Regions from separate parts of the Homo sapiens genome. Here region 2 is linked to region 1. The links are contacts of gene promoters, found by promoter capture Hi-C in human tissues and cell types (Jung and others, 2019). All regions are on one chromosome and are shown on one strand. The core of a region is centred on a gene start or on the middle of the fragment in contact, and the rest is flanking DNA. Distances in the headings are between cores, read along the strand shown.

Evidence for each region. The method cuts DNA at HindIII sites, captures the fragments that hold promoters and counts their contacts. A contact is called where the count stands out against the background at its distance.
Region 2: a fragment that was not itself captured here is called in contact with the fragment with the promoter of ACER3 in region 1 in 9 of the 25 tissues and cell types used here (IMR-90 fibroblasts, adrenal gland, aorta and 6 more).

What each region holds. Positions count from the first base shown.
Region 1 is chr11:76,855,651-76,863,524 of GRCh38, forward strand. It overlaps ACER3 (alkaline ceramidase 3), which reads left to right and starts at 5,268. Exons shown (of 11, transcript NM_018367.7): 1 at 5,268-5,429. The coding sequence starts at 5,327. RefSeq lists silencers at 4,941-5,040, 5,081-5,340. The HindIII fragment of the contact is 20,791 bases long and covers 1-7,874 here.
Region 2 is chr11:76,805,751-76,813,624 of GRCh38, forward strand. It overlaps LOC124902720 (a long non-coding RNA gene), which reads right to left. Exons shown (of 3, transcript XR_007062789.1): 3 at 6,951-7,034. Among named protein-coding and RNA genes, the nearest start is that of TSKU, 26 kb to the left of the region's middle. RefSeq lists enhancers at 1,615-1,664, 1,745-1,794, 4,716-4,805. The HindIII fragment of the contact is 6,333 bases long and covers 1-6,287 here.

The DNA.
Region 1 (7,874 bases), core at 4,018-6,517:
GATAAAAATAGCTCCATCATGTAAACAAATCATTAGATAAAATAACGGAAGAAAATGTACTTAAGTGTTGACAATGGACATTGCTAGTTGGTGGGATTGTAAGTGATTTCTTTTTTTATACTTTTTTTTTTTTGGTATTTTCTAAATTTTTCAACTTAAGAATGTATTGCTTTAAACAAAAGTTTTGGCCGGGTGCAATGGCTTATGCCTGCAATCTCAGCACTTTGGGAGGCCGAAGTGGGCAGATCACCTGAGGTCAGGAGTTCAAGACCAGCCTGGCCTACATGGTGAAACCTGGTCTCTGCTAAAAATACAAAATTAGCCAGGCGTGGTGGTGCACACCTGTAATCTCAGCTACTCAGGAGGCTGAAGCAGAGAATCACTTAAACCCAGGAAGCAGAGGTTGCAGTGAGCCGAGATCATACCATTGCACTCCAGCCTCAGCAAAAAGAATAAAACTCCATCTCAAAATAAAATAAAATAAAATAAAATAAAATAAAATAAAATAAAAAGTTTTAAGATGTAATTTACACACCATACATATTGGCCATTTAAAGTATACACTTCAGTGGGTTTTTTTTTTGGGCATGTCCACAGAGTTGTGTAACTATCACCACAATCTAATTTTAGAACACTTTCATCATCCCCCAAACTTACCCTATTCCCATTAACAGTCACCTCCTGTTCCTGCTCCCTTTCTCAGCCTTAGACAACCACTGATTTACTTTCTATCTCTTCAGATTTGCCTATTCTAGATGTTCCATATATTATAAATGGAATCACAATATGTGCCCCTTGGTGTCTGGCTTCTTTGATATGGCATAAAATTTTCAAGGTTCATCCATGTTGTAGCATGCACCAGTATTTCATTTCATTTCTTTTTATTGCAGAATAATATTTCATTGAATGTGTATATCACACTTATTAATCTATTCATCAGTTGATGGACATTTGGTGTGTTTCCACTTTTTGGCTACTGTGAATAATACTGCTATGATCATTCTTGTACAAGTTTTTGGTGGATATATGTTTTTAATTCTCTTGGTGTATACCTAGGAGTAAAACTGCTTAGGTCATATGATAACTCCATTTAGCATTCTGAGGAACTGAAAAAGTTCTCAAAGCTGCTGCACCATTTTACATACCAGCGATGTTTGAGGGTTCCACTTTCTCCACATGCTTGCCAACATTTGTTGTTATTTGTCTTTTTGATTATAGCCATCCTAGGTTGTCTGAAGCGGCATCTCACTGTGGTTTTGATTTGCATTTTTCTAATGGCTAATTATGTTGAACATCTTTTCTTTTTCCTTTTCTTTTGTTTTTTTTTTTGTGACGTAGTCTTGCTCTGTCGCCCAGGCTGGAGTGCAGCAGTGCAATCTCGGCTCACTGCAAGCTCCGCCTCCTGGGTTCACGCCATTCTCCTGCCTCAGCCTCCCGAGTAGCTGGGACTACAGGTGCCCACCACCACGCCCGGCGAATTTTTTGTGTTTTTAGTAGAGACGGGGTTTCACTGTGTTAGCCAGGATGGTCTCGATCTCCTGACCTCATGATCCGCCTGCCTCGGCCTCCCAAAGTGCTGGGATTACAGGCTTGAGCCACAGCGCCCGGCTATGTTGAACATCTTTTCATGTTTTTATTGATCATTTGTATATCTTCCTTGGAGAAATGTCTATTCAGATCCTTTACTCATTCTTTAATAGGGTTATTGGGAGTTACTTGTCTTCTAATTATTGAATTACAAGTTCTTTATATATTCTGGACACAAGTCTCATATAAGATATATGATTTGCAAATAATTTCTTTCATTCTGTGGGTTGTCTTTTCACTTTCTTGATGGTATCATTTTCAGCAAAGGAGTTTTTAATTTTGATGAAGTCCAATTTATCTATTTTTCCCTTTGTCGCTTGTGTTTTTGGTGTTTTATATAAGAAACCATTGCCTACCCAAGGTTACAAATATTTATTTTTATGTAAACTTCTAAGAATTGTATAGTTTTGGCTCTTACATTTAGGTCTATGATCTATTTTGAGTTGAATTTTGTTTATTGTAACAGGAAGCATTCTAATTTCATTCTTTTGCATGTGGATATCCAGTTGTCCCAGCACCATTTGTTGAAAGACTATTCAATCCCTATTGAATTGTCTTGGCATCCTTGTTAAAAATCAATTGACCATAAATGTAAGGGTTTATTGCTGGACTCTCAATTCGATTCCTTTGATCTACATGTCTATCTTCATGCCAGTACTGCACTGTCTTCATTACTATAGTTTTACAGTAAGTGTTGAAATCAGGAAGTATAAGTCCTCCAGCTTTGTTCTTCTTTTTTGAGATAGTTTTGACTTGTCTGGGTCCCTTACATTTCCAGGCATTGCTTTTATGCTCAAGGGGGGAAATTTTTTAGAAAAAAAGAAAAAGGAAGGTAGATATTGCTGAAGGAACTGTGAAATTCATTTTGTGTTTTCTGAGTGAAACTTCTGCAATGCACCTTTTCTCTCGGATGGGGGAATTTCTCTCTCCTAAAATCCGTCCTGGTCACGGTAGATTTCCTTTTTCACTATTGAGGAACATTGTGCAGAGTATTGACTCAGCCAAGGCCTCATCCTGCCTTGAGTCACTTGGCTGGGTCAGGGGTTATTTTCACATAGGGGGTTCCACAACACCCTAATTTTTTTTTTACTCCTAGCTAAGAATGATCATACTCTATTGTTGTGGTCTCTGCACTGTTCTGATTGCACACCTCATCGGCAAATCACTTTTGCGTATGAGTTTTTGCATATTCATTTTGAGCATATAAATATATAAATATTTCATTCATTTATAAATTATATATGCTCATGATTATTACATAAACACATAAACAAAACGGAAGTTTTAGAATATGAGATAAAGTGACTAGAAATAGATGTTTCCCCACACCTCAATGGCTTTTATCTCTCTGGAGACGGCCTTCTTGGATCTTTCATGTTTACCTCTGTGTGGTCCTAGCACCCAGGCAGCCAAACAGGGCCTGGTATATAGTAGAAGCTCAATGACATTCAAAATAAAAATTTCAGGCCAGGCAGGGTGTAACTCAGGCCTGTAATCCCAGGACTTTCGGAGGCCAAGGAGGGTGGATCACTCAAGGTCAGGAGTTCAAGACTGGCCTGGCCAACATGGTGAAATCTCGTCTCTATTAAAAATACAAAAATTAGCCAGGTGTGGTGGCAGCCTCCTGTAATCCCAGCTATGGGGATGAGGGGGTACTGAGGCACGATTCCCGGAAGGCAGAAGTTGCAGCGAGCCAAGATGGCACCACTGCACTCCAGCCTGGGCGACAGATCGAGATTCTGTCTCAAAAAAGAAAAATTTCAGAGAGGCTACTATTCGTATTAAAATACACTGCTTCCGGCCGGGTGCGATGGCTCACGCCTGTAATCCCAGCACTTTGGGAGGCCGAGGCGGGTGAATCACGAGGTCAAGAGATCGAGGCCAGCCTGGCCAACAAGGTGAAACCCTGTCTCTACTAAAAATACAAAAATTAGCTGGGCGTGGTGGTGCACACCTGTAGTCCCAGCTACTCTGGAGGCTGAGACAGGAGAATCGCTTAAACCCAGGGGGCGGAAGTTGCGGTGAGCTGAGATCATGCCAGTGCATTCCAGCCTGGCCGACAGAGCAAGACTGTCTCAAAAAAAAAAAAAAAAAAAAAAAAAGATACACTGCTTCCCTAGGTTTTGCACCTAGCAAATAAAAGTTCTGCATCTATTTCCTGCTAATTGGCTATGGTTATTTTGTAGAAAGGCTGTGGGCTCTTCATCTCTCCTTGTCCTCTCTTTTACCTTTGACTTGCACCACATCTGACTTATTTATTTAGAAAATAGCAGTTGTATCATCCTTCATTTTTACTCTTCATTTCTTACTGTGTATTCAGGCAGAGTCCTAATACTAAGACCATAAAGAAGGGAAAGCAAGGTCTCTGATCAGGATGTAGCACAGTAGGATGTGAACAAAGGGCAAGGAAGCTCTAGGGTGTAAACATCTGGGATGGCTTCAGAGAGCTGGATTTTAAAAGAAGAGTGGGGAGTTGGTCAAACGGAGAAGAGAGTTAGGCTGTCCCAGTTGAACTGTGGGAGCAAAGGCAGGTGACCCAGCGCATTCTAGGAGAGGGGAAAGTTTGAGTTTGGTGTAGCTGAACACTAGGGGCAAGGGTGGTTGCATCTGTTTTAGGAAGAGCTCTCTGGCAGACCTGTGGAGTACTAGACTTTTTATTTATTTATTTATTTATTTATTTATTTATTTATTTAGAGACAGGGTCTCGCTCTGTTCTCCCAGGCTGGATTGGCACAGTCTCAGCTCACTGCATGCAATCTCCACCGCGGGGGCTCAAGTGATCCTCCCACCTCAGCTTCTCAAGTAGCTGGGACCACACGTCTGAGCCACCGCGCCCAGCTAATTTTTGTATTTTTCGTAGACACGGGGTTTTGCCGTCTACGATACTCCCAGACGGGGGCTGGGAGTATTAGACTTGAAGTTGGAAGTAGGGGTAGGCTGTTGGTTGCCTGAAGAGCAGGGCACAATTATAGTTAGAACGTGGAAACCTCTGTGCTTGGAGGCCCAAACGAAGCAGGGAAACTTTGCTTTAGTGCTCTAGCTAGCAGCATTCTTTTTTTTTAGGATCTCAGAACCTACTTTTTTTTTTTCGGTCCTGGGTTGTTCACCCTTTCCCTTTGTACCGAAGAGACACTTACACCTTTATCAGAAAATCACGGTTTATTTCCTGAGAATCACGGGGATTGGTTGGGGGTACTCTGTTTTGGGGCTCCATTTGAGGCCTGTGGCTCAATGGAAGACATAGAGGCGCTTCGCCGCACAGGTTTAATCAAGCAAGGGCTTGATAGAAGTATTCATCCCACCCCCGCCCCGATTAAATCAAACCACACGCACACAAATAGAGGCTCTGGCACATCCTGACAGAATATAGCCTCTGGGATGTCAGGAACCCCCAACCTACGGCCATTGGCGTGTCTGCACCGGCCAGGAAGCCCAGGCCCCCGGCTCCTTCCTGGATCACGCCCCTGCCCCGCCCAAGGGTGAAGAGGGGCGGGGCCAGCCGGCGCCCTCCGAGTGGGCCTTACACCAGGTCGGGCCTGGCCCGGCCCCGCGGCCCAGCGGCGCCGGTGGGCGGGGCCTCCGTCAGGGCAGTGTCAGTAACGGCGCCAGGCCCCGCCCCTCGGGGAGGCAGGGCCGGGCGGGGCGCGAGCGAGCGCGCGGGCTGGGCCGGAGCCGGCCTGGTCGCCAGCCTAACCCGGCACAGTGAGCGGAGCGCCTGGGCGGCGGCGGCGGCGGCGTGATGGCTCCGGCCGCGGACCGAGAGGGCTACTGGGGCCCCACGACCTCCACGCTGGACTGGTGCGAGGAGAACTACTCCGTGACCTGGTACATCGCCGAGTTCTGTGAGTGTGGCCTGAGGAGGGGAGTGGGGGCGAGAGGGCACCGGGCTGAGGAGACGCCGTGTGAGGAAGGCAAAGAGCGAACCTGGCCGCGAAGGGAGGTGCCAGGCCTGGCCCCGGGAGCTGGAATGCGGCGCCCTGGGCCAGCGGGAGGCTGAGAGGAGCGGGCCGGGAGTCCAGTGTGTAGAGGGAGGAGTACCGGGGTCTGGGAGGGAGGAAGGGGGCCTGAGGATTGGGGGGGCAGAAGAGCAGTGGGAAGTGGGGAGCCCCTGCTGGACCTAAGGGGGAAAGCCTGAAGAGCCGGGTTGGGAATGGGAATTCCTGCCCGAGAGCGGAGTGGGGCCAGGCTGGGAGAGTGGAGGACCCTGCCCCTTGGAATGAGGGCCCAGGACACCTGCTCTGCTGTTGCCACCACCAGAAGGGTACAGTTCCTAGCTTCGTCTTTCCCCCAATCCGTGAGAATTCTACCGTCTTTCCCTTCCCTTTTCACTGGAATATTAGACCTCCTTGCTCACCTCCAGGGAACAGTTTCACTAGTCTGAGATCTGAACCATCCCACCCCTATCCCCCAGGATGTCTTCAAGTACCAGAGGTCATCTGCTCTCTGAGTATGATTATTCAACTGTCATCTTGCACCAGGAGTCGAAGGCATCTTGCACCTAGCCTGTACCTTCTGCCCCTGCCAGGCTCCCAAGAGCACAGAGGACCAAGTCCCTGCTCCATTCTGTCCTATCCAACTATCTAGGAGTTAGGGGTCATCTGAGGACACTACTTCCACCGACTGCACCTTCTGAGGATTTAAGCATTCTTCTTTAGCGGCTGCTCTGTCAGGCACTGCTGGTCAGGTTGGGCTTGTTCTGTGTGCCTATGTGGGTGTCTGTCTGTTTTCCTAGACGATTTTTCCTGCCAGGCTAGGAGAAATCTGCCACTTCTTTTTCTATCATTTAATCAGGTTTTGAGAGCACAATATTTGATCCTTCTTTTAGGTACCTGCTTCTGGCAAAGTGCAAAGACTATCCTTTGGCTAATGATTACTGCCTTCTTTTAGTTGGATCTACTTCTCAGGACGTGAAGTGAAACTCTTCTTAGCTAACCTTCTCATTGTTGAGTCCTGTTCTCAGGCATCTGTGCATGGCTTTGTAGGAAAGAGGCAAGCATATCATGACAAATGGTCCCACTTTATTCTGTTCTGGTAATTGGCTAAGTTTCAAAAAAAAAAAAAAAGAACACTTTTTGCAGTTTTCAGGACTTTAGTACTATTCTCTTATGACCATGATTTAGGCTAAGAGTCACTTTTCTTCAACTATTAAATTAATAATTTTTACATAATCATGGAGAAATATTGGCAAAGGGATCATTTGTAATACAATTACTTGGGAACCCACATGTTGGCAAAGGAAGCGCTTTACCAGTTTGTTGTTAGATCACTTTGGCAAGCCCATGCCTGGTCCAGAGAACCATGACCACGAGGAAAGAGATGTAAAACCATGCACTCTGCGCTGGAAATGTGTAACATGGAAAAGAGGAATTCAAGAGTCTTCAAATATTGGATGGGCTATCATATAGAATAATTTTTTTTTAATTTATTTGGAATCTGGAATTAGGGCATATGGGCAGAAACTAACTGTAATGGGGAAAAGTTTGCTTCAATATAAGGAAAAACCTTCTCACCAATGATATGGGAAAGGTTGACTTGGGGGACAGAGGACTTTCTGTCACTGAAAGTGTTAAATCAGACATTGTTCAATGAACTCAATATTTTCGAAGGAAAAAATTATTTAATAGAGAAAAGGGGCTGGCCTTAGTTGCAGCTTTATGGGTCTATGTAGGTAATAATGACTCTTAGTTTAGAACCAAGAAAAAACTGGGCTGGGCATCGTGGCCCATGCCTGTAATCCCAGCACTTTGGGAGGCCAAGGCAGGAGGACTGCTTGAGGCCAGGAGTTTGAGTCCAGCCTGGGCAACATAGTGAGACCCTGTCTCCATAAAAAATAAAAAAAATTAGATATGCATGGTGGTTTGTGCCTGTAGTCCCAGCTACTTAGGAGACTGAGGTGGGAAGATCACTTGAGCCCAGGAGTTCAAGGTTGCTGTGAGCTGTAATTATGCCACTGCACTCCAGCCTGGGCAAGAGTTAGACCCTATTTCTACAAAAAAAATATAAAAAATGCAAAGAGAGAAAACTGGCGGTAAGTCATGTGGACTCTGAGAGAGCAAGATACTGTGTTCTGGCAGATAGCTCTGAGAAATGGGAAATGACATTTGTTCTCAATGTGCTCAGAAGAGGAAACTCTGAGCAGACTGCAGGGAGGGTTTTGACATAGGAATCAGAGGGGTTGCAAGAAGAGGATGAGTGAATGTTTGCAGCCCTTTGCGCATGCACCTTGGGAGAAAATCATCTGGAGGAAGTTGAGGTCAAGTCATCTTACCATAGCAAGTCATGAGTAT
Region 2 (7,874 bases), core at 1,871-4,370, 52 kb before region 1:
TAGACGTTCCTCCTCTGTGCCAGCCCAGTACCTGGTCTTGCCTTCAGAGTGATGCTCATCATATTTACTTTGTGTTTATTTTTCCAGCTTCCACTCATCCCCAGAGGCAGGAACTGTTCCTGCCTTGCTCCCCACAGGGTCCATATCACCTAGGCTGGTGCCCAGCACATAGTTGGTTGTCGATTCATATCTGTAGGATTAATAAATGGGTCTGTTATATCCGTTTTACTGATGGTGAAATGAAGGACCAGAGAGAGTAAGTGGCCTTTCCAAGGCTTCACAGCAAGCTTGTGGAAGAAACCACCAAGAAACCAGCTCTTGAGACTTCCAGCATTTGTTCCAGTTCCTCTGCAAGGGAAACCCCCATTCCCTGCTCTCTCTTTTTCCCCTCCTCACAGGCAGCAGGTATGTGCACAGACAGGCCTGGAGCTGGGCTAGGGTAGGAGTCCCCTGTGAGGCTCCACCTCTGCCTCTCCAGCTCCTTGGCCGGGACCCACTTCTGCTCCAACTCTTGCTGGCCATTAAGTCTGTGCCCCGCCTCACTCAGCCCGCCGCAGCCCCACTGCCTGTGGAGAGGTGAGTCCCACCTCTCTGAGCCTGCTCCCTTCCCCAGCCATAAGACGAATCAGCCTAGGAGATTCTGAGGCTCCTTCAGCCAGGAGGGCCTGTGATGCCCTGTGAAGACGGAAGAGGCTGGGGCCAGCTCCATGCTGCCTGCAGCGTGGCTCAAAGCACAAGCCTTCACCAAACATCAGAAAGGCCCAGAAATCTCATTTTTTCCCAAATGTTCCAGAATTTGACTTCAATGTCACATACTTTTAAAACTTCCCCGTGTGTGGGGAGAGGGTAGGGAGTCTTAGTTTTCAGTTTTTCAAAACAAGCAAATCCAGATGATCTTACTGCATAATCAGGTTTGGGCCACACTTTAAAGTTGACATGGATCTTCCATTTCATACCACACCTCATTTGCTCTGTGCAGCCTTCCTGTGAGGACAGCAGGGCAGGGCTTAGAATCAGCCCATTTCACAGTCAAGGAAAACGATGTCCAGACAGTAGGTGGCAGGGCCTGGGACTTACACTCAGAGGCCCTGTCCCAAATTATGTCTGCTTCCTGCTCTCCACAGAGTGATTTGAGTTGAAAGGAGAAAAAAAAGAAAGAAAAAGAAAGAAAGAAAGAAATTAAGGAAGGAGTGGGAAGGAAGGAAGGAAAGGAGAGGGAAGGGAGGGAAGGAGGGAAGGAAGGGAGGGAAGGAGGGAAGGAATGAAGGAAGGAAGGAAGGAAGGAAGGAAGGAAGGAAGGACAGAGAGAGAGAGAAGGAAGAAAAGAAAGAAGAAAAAAAGGTTGCGTATAATAACTTGATTGGTAGACCTGCCGGAGGAGCCTGCTTAGCCCTGGCAGGAGGCTAAGTCATTTGGTGGGAAGCCCTTTCTCTAGGGGATGGGGTGAGAGATGACAAGAATAATAAAACTCTGAGACAAAGCCAACAGCATGCTGAGTGACTCAAAGGATTAGGGCAGCCCAGGGAGTAGGCCCCTGGGTCTCAGCGTGCAGGATTTGTCCCCACATACACGTGAAAGCCATGTGTTTGGCAGAGACACCACAGTCCTAGCCATGGGGCATCCAGAGATGGACTAGAGCCAGCCCTGGCCCCAGTGGCTTTCCATCCCATGGGAGAGTCGAATGACTGCAATACAAGGTGAAAAGTGACTGCATAGGCAGGGCACGAGCTTGAGTTCCCATCTGACAAGAGGGGCAAACTAGGTGAAAACTTGCAAGAATGGAGTTGCGGGCGGAGTGTGTTGCAGGTCTCCAACTTGTCACGGAGTTTGTGCCCACCAGAGGGCGCTGCCTTAGACACTCCCGTTCCTTTCTCCGCCCGCCCATTGCTCCCTTTCTCCCTGCCCTGTGCCGGGCTTGTCGCTCTATACACAGGCCGGGGGTTAGAGGGGTCCCCACAAGAGGAAAGCGAAGGGCAAGCTCAGACGCAGAAGTCTGATGAGCAGCGGTTTTCAGCAGCCACCAAGGACTCCACTTTCACATCTTCCCCTCCGATAAAAGAACTTTCAACCTGGTGTTTTATAGAATTTAAAAAATAATGTTTATTCAGCAGGCCGGGCCTGGTGGCTCATGCCTGTAATCCCAGAACTTCTGGAGGCTGAGATGGGAGAATTGCTTTAGTCCAGGAGTTCGAGACCAGCCCGGACAACATAGTGAGACCCTGTCTCTAAAATAAATAAATAAATATTTTTTAAAAAGTAAAATAAAATTCAATAAATAGTTTAGAGGGTCTCCTGTGTCCAGACCCAAAGACAAGTACTGGGGAAAGAGCCATGACCACAGACCACCTTGGTCCCTGCTGTCATGGAGGTGGTCATCTACGGGGAGGGCCAACAGTAAATGGGTGCCTGGGCATCTAAGTAAGTGAGGAGATGGTGAATGCTACAAAGAGGGCAAATTGGAGCACAGTAGAGGTGACGGGGGTGCCGGCAGAGGTAACGCGGTTGGGTGCTACTCTCACGTTTGAGCTGAGACTTAAAAGAAGGGAGGAAGCCAACCCTGCGGGGACCTGAGGAACCTTTTCCAAGGGAGGAAATCTCGGTGCAAAGACCTCAAGGAGTGAGTGAGCTTGGCACACTCAGGAAGGACGCGAGGCTGGCCGGGGCTTGATGGGAGAATTGAGGGCAGCGAGGCTGGCTGGATAGACCACTGTCAGTGCTGCGGATTTTACTCCAGTCACAGCAGGAAGCCAATTAGAGGCCTTTAGACAGAGGTGACACAGGCTCTGGGGACACTTTACAAAGATTGCCCTGGCTGTGAGTGCCAGAGCAGAAGCAGAGAGATCCATTAGGAAGTCCTTGCCATAAACCAGGAAGGAGATGAGAGTGACTTGATGGTAGCAGTGGAGATAGGAAGAAATGTAGGAATTTGGGTCTGTTTTAAAATAAAAATAAAACTTGCCGATGAAATGACAGGTTATTCGGTGCCAGGCGCTGAGATGTACACTTTGTGTGTATTGACTTATTCATTCTCGCTATATATAAAGCTGTTTTACAGAGGAGAAAATGGAAGCTCAGGGAGGTTAAGTAATTTGCCCAAGGTCCCATAGCCGATAAGTGACAGATTCTACATTTTAAAAACGAGTCTGTCGATTCCAGAGCCCACAAACAGACTGCTCAATGCAGAGAATGGGAAGCAAAAGATTAGACATACAGAATCAGAAATGGAATCCCAGAGTGCTAGTCCAACAACTTTGACGCAGGCTTCAGCCCAGACCAGAGACTTGTCTCAACTGTTTGGTTGTTCTCTTGGCCAAGGACAGCTGCCCTGGGATCCAAAAGCTCATCAGAGAAAGCTCCCAAGAGCTCAAGTCTGCATTCTTCCCCTCCTTGGGTAACCCACTCATGGTCACCCAGCCAGTTTAAATCCTGGGTCCTCTGACCTTCCTGTCCAGGCCTCCTCCCTATCCCCACAGAGCCCGCTCAGCACAGGGTAAGACCAAGAACATCACGTGGCCACTGCTCACGTCAGATGAGAGCATGGCATATTCCCCTCCTGAGTTCTTGGCTTTTTAACACGGACCTCAGAGCTTTAACTAAAAGTATTTGACTATGCATCCAGGTGCTGTGGCTCATGCCTGTAATCCCAGCACTTTAGGAGACCGAGGCCAGTGGATCACTTGAGATCGGGAATTCAAGAGCAGCCTGGCCAACATGGTGAAACCCCATCTCTACTAAAAGAACAAAAAATACAAAAAAAAATAGCAAGCCTGTAATCCCAGCTATTTGGGAGACTGAGGCAGGAGAATTGCTTGAACCCAGGAGGCAGAGAGAGGCTGCAGTGAGCTGAGATCACACCACTGCACTCCAGCCTGGGCGACAGAGGGAGACTCCATCTCAAAAAATAAAAAATAAAAATAAAAAAAATTGGCCGGGCGCGGTGGCTCACGCCTGTAATCCCAGCACTTTGGGAGGCTGAGGCGGGCAGATCACAAGGTCAGGAGATCAAGACCATCCTGGCTAACACGGTGAAACCCCATCTCTACTAAAAATACAAAAAATTAGCCGGGTGTGGTGGTGGATGCCTGTAGTCCCAGCTACTCGGGAGGCTGAGGCAGGAGAATGGCATGAACCCGGGAGGCGGAGCTTGCAGTAAGCCGAGATCGCGCCACTGCACTCCAGCCTGGGCAACAGAACGAGACTCTGTCTCAAAAACAAACAAAAAAATTGATTATGTGGAGGCACCCAGGCATAAAGGTAGGTCAGCAGGGAAGGTATTTTGCTCCTCAAATTGGGGTGGCAGAGAGCTGGGGTACCTTGAATTCAATCATTCCTACCATGTTCAAGCTGCGTCACAGAAGCGTGGGACATGAACACTGTTTACAACCCATTTCTAACAAGCTCAGAGCCTGCTGAAAGAGTTACCAAGGTAATCAGCTGGAGCCCCCGTCACAGGGCCTGGCACACTGAGGGGTTCCTTCCTCCGCTCCCTGAGGCTGGGGTTCAGGGAGCACATCCCAGGACATGACGCCGTGTCGGTTTTGACTGGTCAGTACTGGTGCGATGCTAGTGTCAGTCCTTTGGCTTTCTCTGCCCGCTACATGTTAGGTCTAATCCATCCCAAGTTAGGATTGGGTCATTATTTCATTGGCACTCAGCAGGGGGCGCTGATAAAACAATTTAATTCAAAGTGTAGCCAGAAATTATGGAGGAAAAGAAACTAAAAGTAACAATCATAAAATGAGTAATTCCTGTCTACCTGAATGGCATGTAATGTTTCAAAGCAACTGGATGTCCCAGATATGTTTGATCTTCACAAAAACCTAGTGAGGAAGTTGCATTGTTAACACTGTCCGCTCTCCGCTCCCTGTAAAAATGAGGACAGAGAGGAAAGGAGAACCCTGTCCCTGCTCCTTGGCCTGGTGAGAGTGGGTCACTGGGAAGACACCAGGAAGGAGGCCAGGAGGCAGGAGTGTTACTGGTAGAGGGTGTGCAGGTTCTTGGCATCTTGAACAGAGAATTGGACAAAACGCACAAAGCAAAGAAAAAGAATGAAGCAACAAAAGCAGAGATTTATTGAAAACAAAAGTACACACCACACAGGGTGGGAGTGGCCCAAGCATAGGGGTTGAAGAGCCCCATTACAGAATTTCCTGGGGTCTAAATACCCTCTAGAGGTTTCCATTGGATACTCGGTGTATGCCCTATGTAAATGGAGAGGATATTCCCTGTCATAGCTGAAGTGTTTCCATTTGATTCACTTCTAGGAAGTCCAGCATGAATTGGCCTTAGGTTCCCTGCCTCCAGACCATATTCTCCTGCCTTATTTCTCCCCTGAGAGATGTGACCCCATAAATCTTTATAGAAGGCAGAGGAACGGATGGTCTTTCTTCTTTAACTACTTTATGCTGGCTTAGGGCATAGTCCCTACCTATTGGGGATCATGGAACGCTAGCCCTGCTCTGTTTAGTGGAGGGAGGATAGTTCCTTGATGGCCGGGGGTGGTCTCTTCACTTGGAACTGGCTGGAACCCATGTTGCATGATCATCTGAAGCTTGATGGTCTCTGAGTAAGAGGAAATGAATTTGGTTAAAAGATTTAATGGGAACTTCAGGGGCTGGGTACCTTTGCTGTCAGGAATGTTTGTTATAGAGATTTGCAGGAGAATAACAAAACCTGGTCTGTGATCTGTTCTAGGATCTATGTGTTTCCTTAAAGTCTTAACATGAGCGACTCCATTTTGGTTTGGTTTGGTCTGTTGGGGCCTAGTGCATGAGCTCAGTTCAAAACAATGGCCTCCCATAATTTTGTTTAAAAAAAATTACCCCTTTTTGGTCACGTTCTCACCTAGGTGAGAACGTGACCAAAACTTACGGCCTTAGCACCACTCTCAGTTACCATCATTTTGGGTTTCTAGTCTCAGAACATCATTCATAGGTTATGGTGTCCTCATGGTCACACATTTCTTTCAGCTCTTGTCATTCCAGTTGAAGAGAGACCATCTGACATTCTAGAGATGGCTGCATGCAAATATTTAAAATGTCTGAGAGAATACAGTGCACCAGGGAGACTATTATCATGACTATTGGGAGGATAATACCAAGAGTTTGGAGTATGCTCCTTACCCAGGGTCCCCATAAACCAAACCTCCTAAAATTAAATAGATTAAAGAATGAGCTACGTAAAGAGTCTACTCACTTAACTAAGCAGGGTCTTCGTTAATCTGCTACAACTGAATCTCTATAATACCCAATGTTTTTTCCATAGGCCATGAGGGCCAGCAGCTTCACAGATACTTCTCTGTTCAGCCAATTCGATCATAACCTTCACAAGAGAACTTAAAGTCTGTTGTGTAACTGTAGCCTTTACAGTAGAATTTGCTATAGAGCCTATCTTGAGGGATACATTTCTAATCATTGCTTATTTTACTCCAAACCATGGAAAAGGACCTAACTAATGATGCCCTTCTAGAAGAGTGAAGGCCTCCTGACAATGTTCTCTTTAACCTATGATGTGCATTAAGAGGAGTGAACCAATGTTCTGTTTCTGACTGATTGTGAGGCAATGTATGTACCATTAAGGTTTCTCACCTACATTGGGCCTCCATCTTTTATCTATCAAAGTACAAGGTTATCCATGTATAAGACTAGCTGCAAACTCCTTCACAAATAAAAGTATACCCCATAAGTGCACATAACAGACCCCTTTTCCACTTCTATTATTCGTAGTGGCATAGGCAAGGAAAAAAATATTCAAAGATAAGGATCTCATGATAGTTGAGAAGTCTTGATTCATGATCCTGGGAAAAGCTGTTCACATCAAGTATGCCATCTTATTCTGGGGAGAAACTTCCCTAGTTAGCTTTACCTTAAGGATTCCAATGGATATACAGTTCCAAGAATGTGGAGGGACCCTTCTCAGTTGTGAGATTATAAACCCAAAGTTCAAGGTCCCAAAATTTTGCTGTAGTGTGGATGGCAAGGACAGTCTTTCTCTGATGTTCTCAGAAGATCCAAACCATAAAAAGCTTTCTTTACCTGGTGAAAATATACCATAGCATAATAATCTACTGTTATAACATCAGCCCTCTTGCATCGGAAAGCTTTTATACAACCAGAAAACATGCATTGAAAATAACAATTGAGGCAGGGTGCAGTGGCTCATGCCTGTAATCCCTACACTTTGGGAGGCTGAGGTGGGCCAGTCACTTGAGGCCAGGAGTTCGAGACCAGCCTGGCCAACATGGTGAAACCCCATCTCTACTAAAAATACAAAAATTAGCTGGGTGTGGTGGCACGTGCCTGTAATCCCAGCTACTCAGGAGGCTGAGGCAGGAGAATCCCTTGAGCCTGGGAGGCAGAGGTTGCAGTGAGCTGAGATCATGCCACTGCACTCCAGTCTGGGTGGCAGAGAGAGACTCCCCAAAAAAAAAAAGAAAAAAGAAAATAACAATTGAAAGAAATTCCTTTATAAAATGTTTAAATGGCCCATCAGGTGACCAAATGTACCTGAAGCTTTGATTGTTTTCCCAGAAATATGGGACCAAACATTGGTTATAAACTATTTTAGCAATGTATAAGTCACCACACCAATATATTCAATTTGGATCATTTTATCTTTTCCATGATGAGTTGTGGAATGCAGAACTTTTAATAATAAAACCTTGAAGGACTCAAGAAGGACAAGGTGGTCATCCTGGTTCTCCATGAGTCCATGCTTAATTAACATTAGACTTATATCCTCTTGAATACCAGTTGTTTCTTCAAATTATTTGAATAGCACTGGTAACTGATGGGTTATCATAAGTAATTTGACTTAGACCATGGAGTTCATTCAAATTGTATATCTAAACAATTTCAGTATCAGCTGGTTTAACA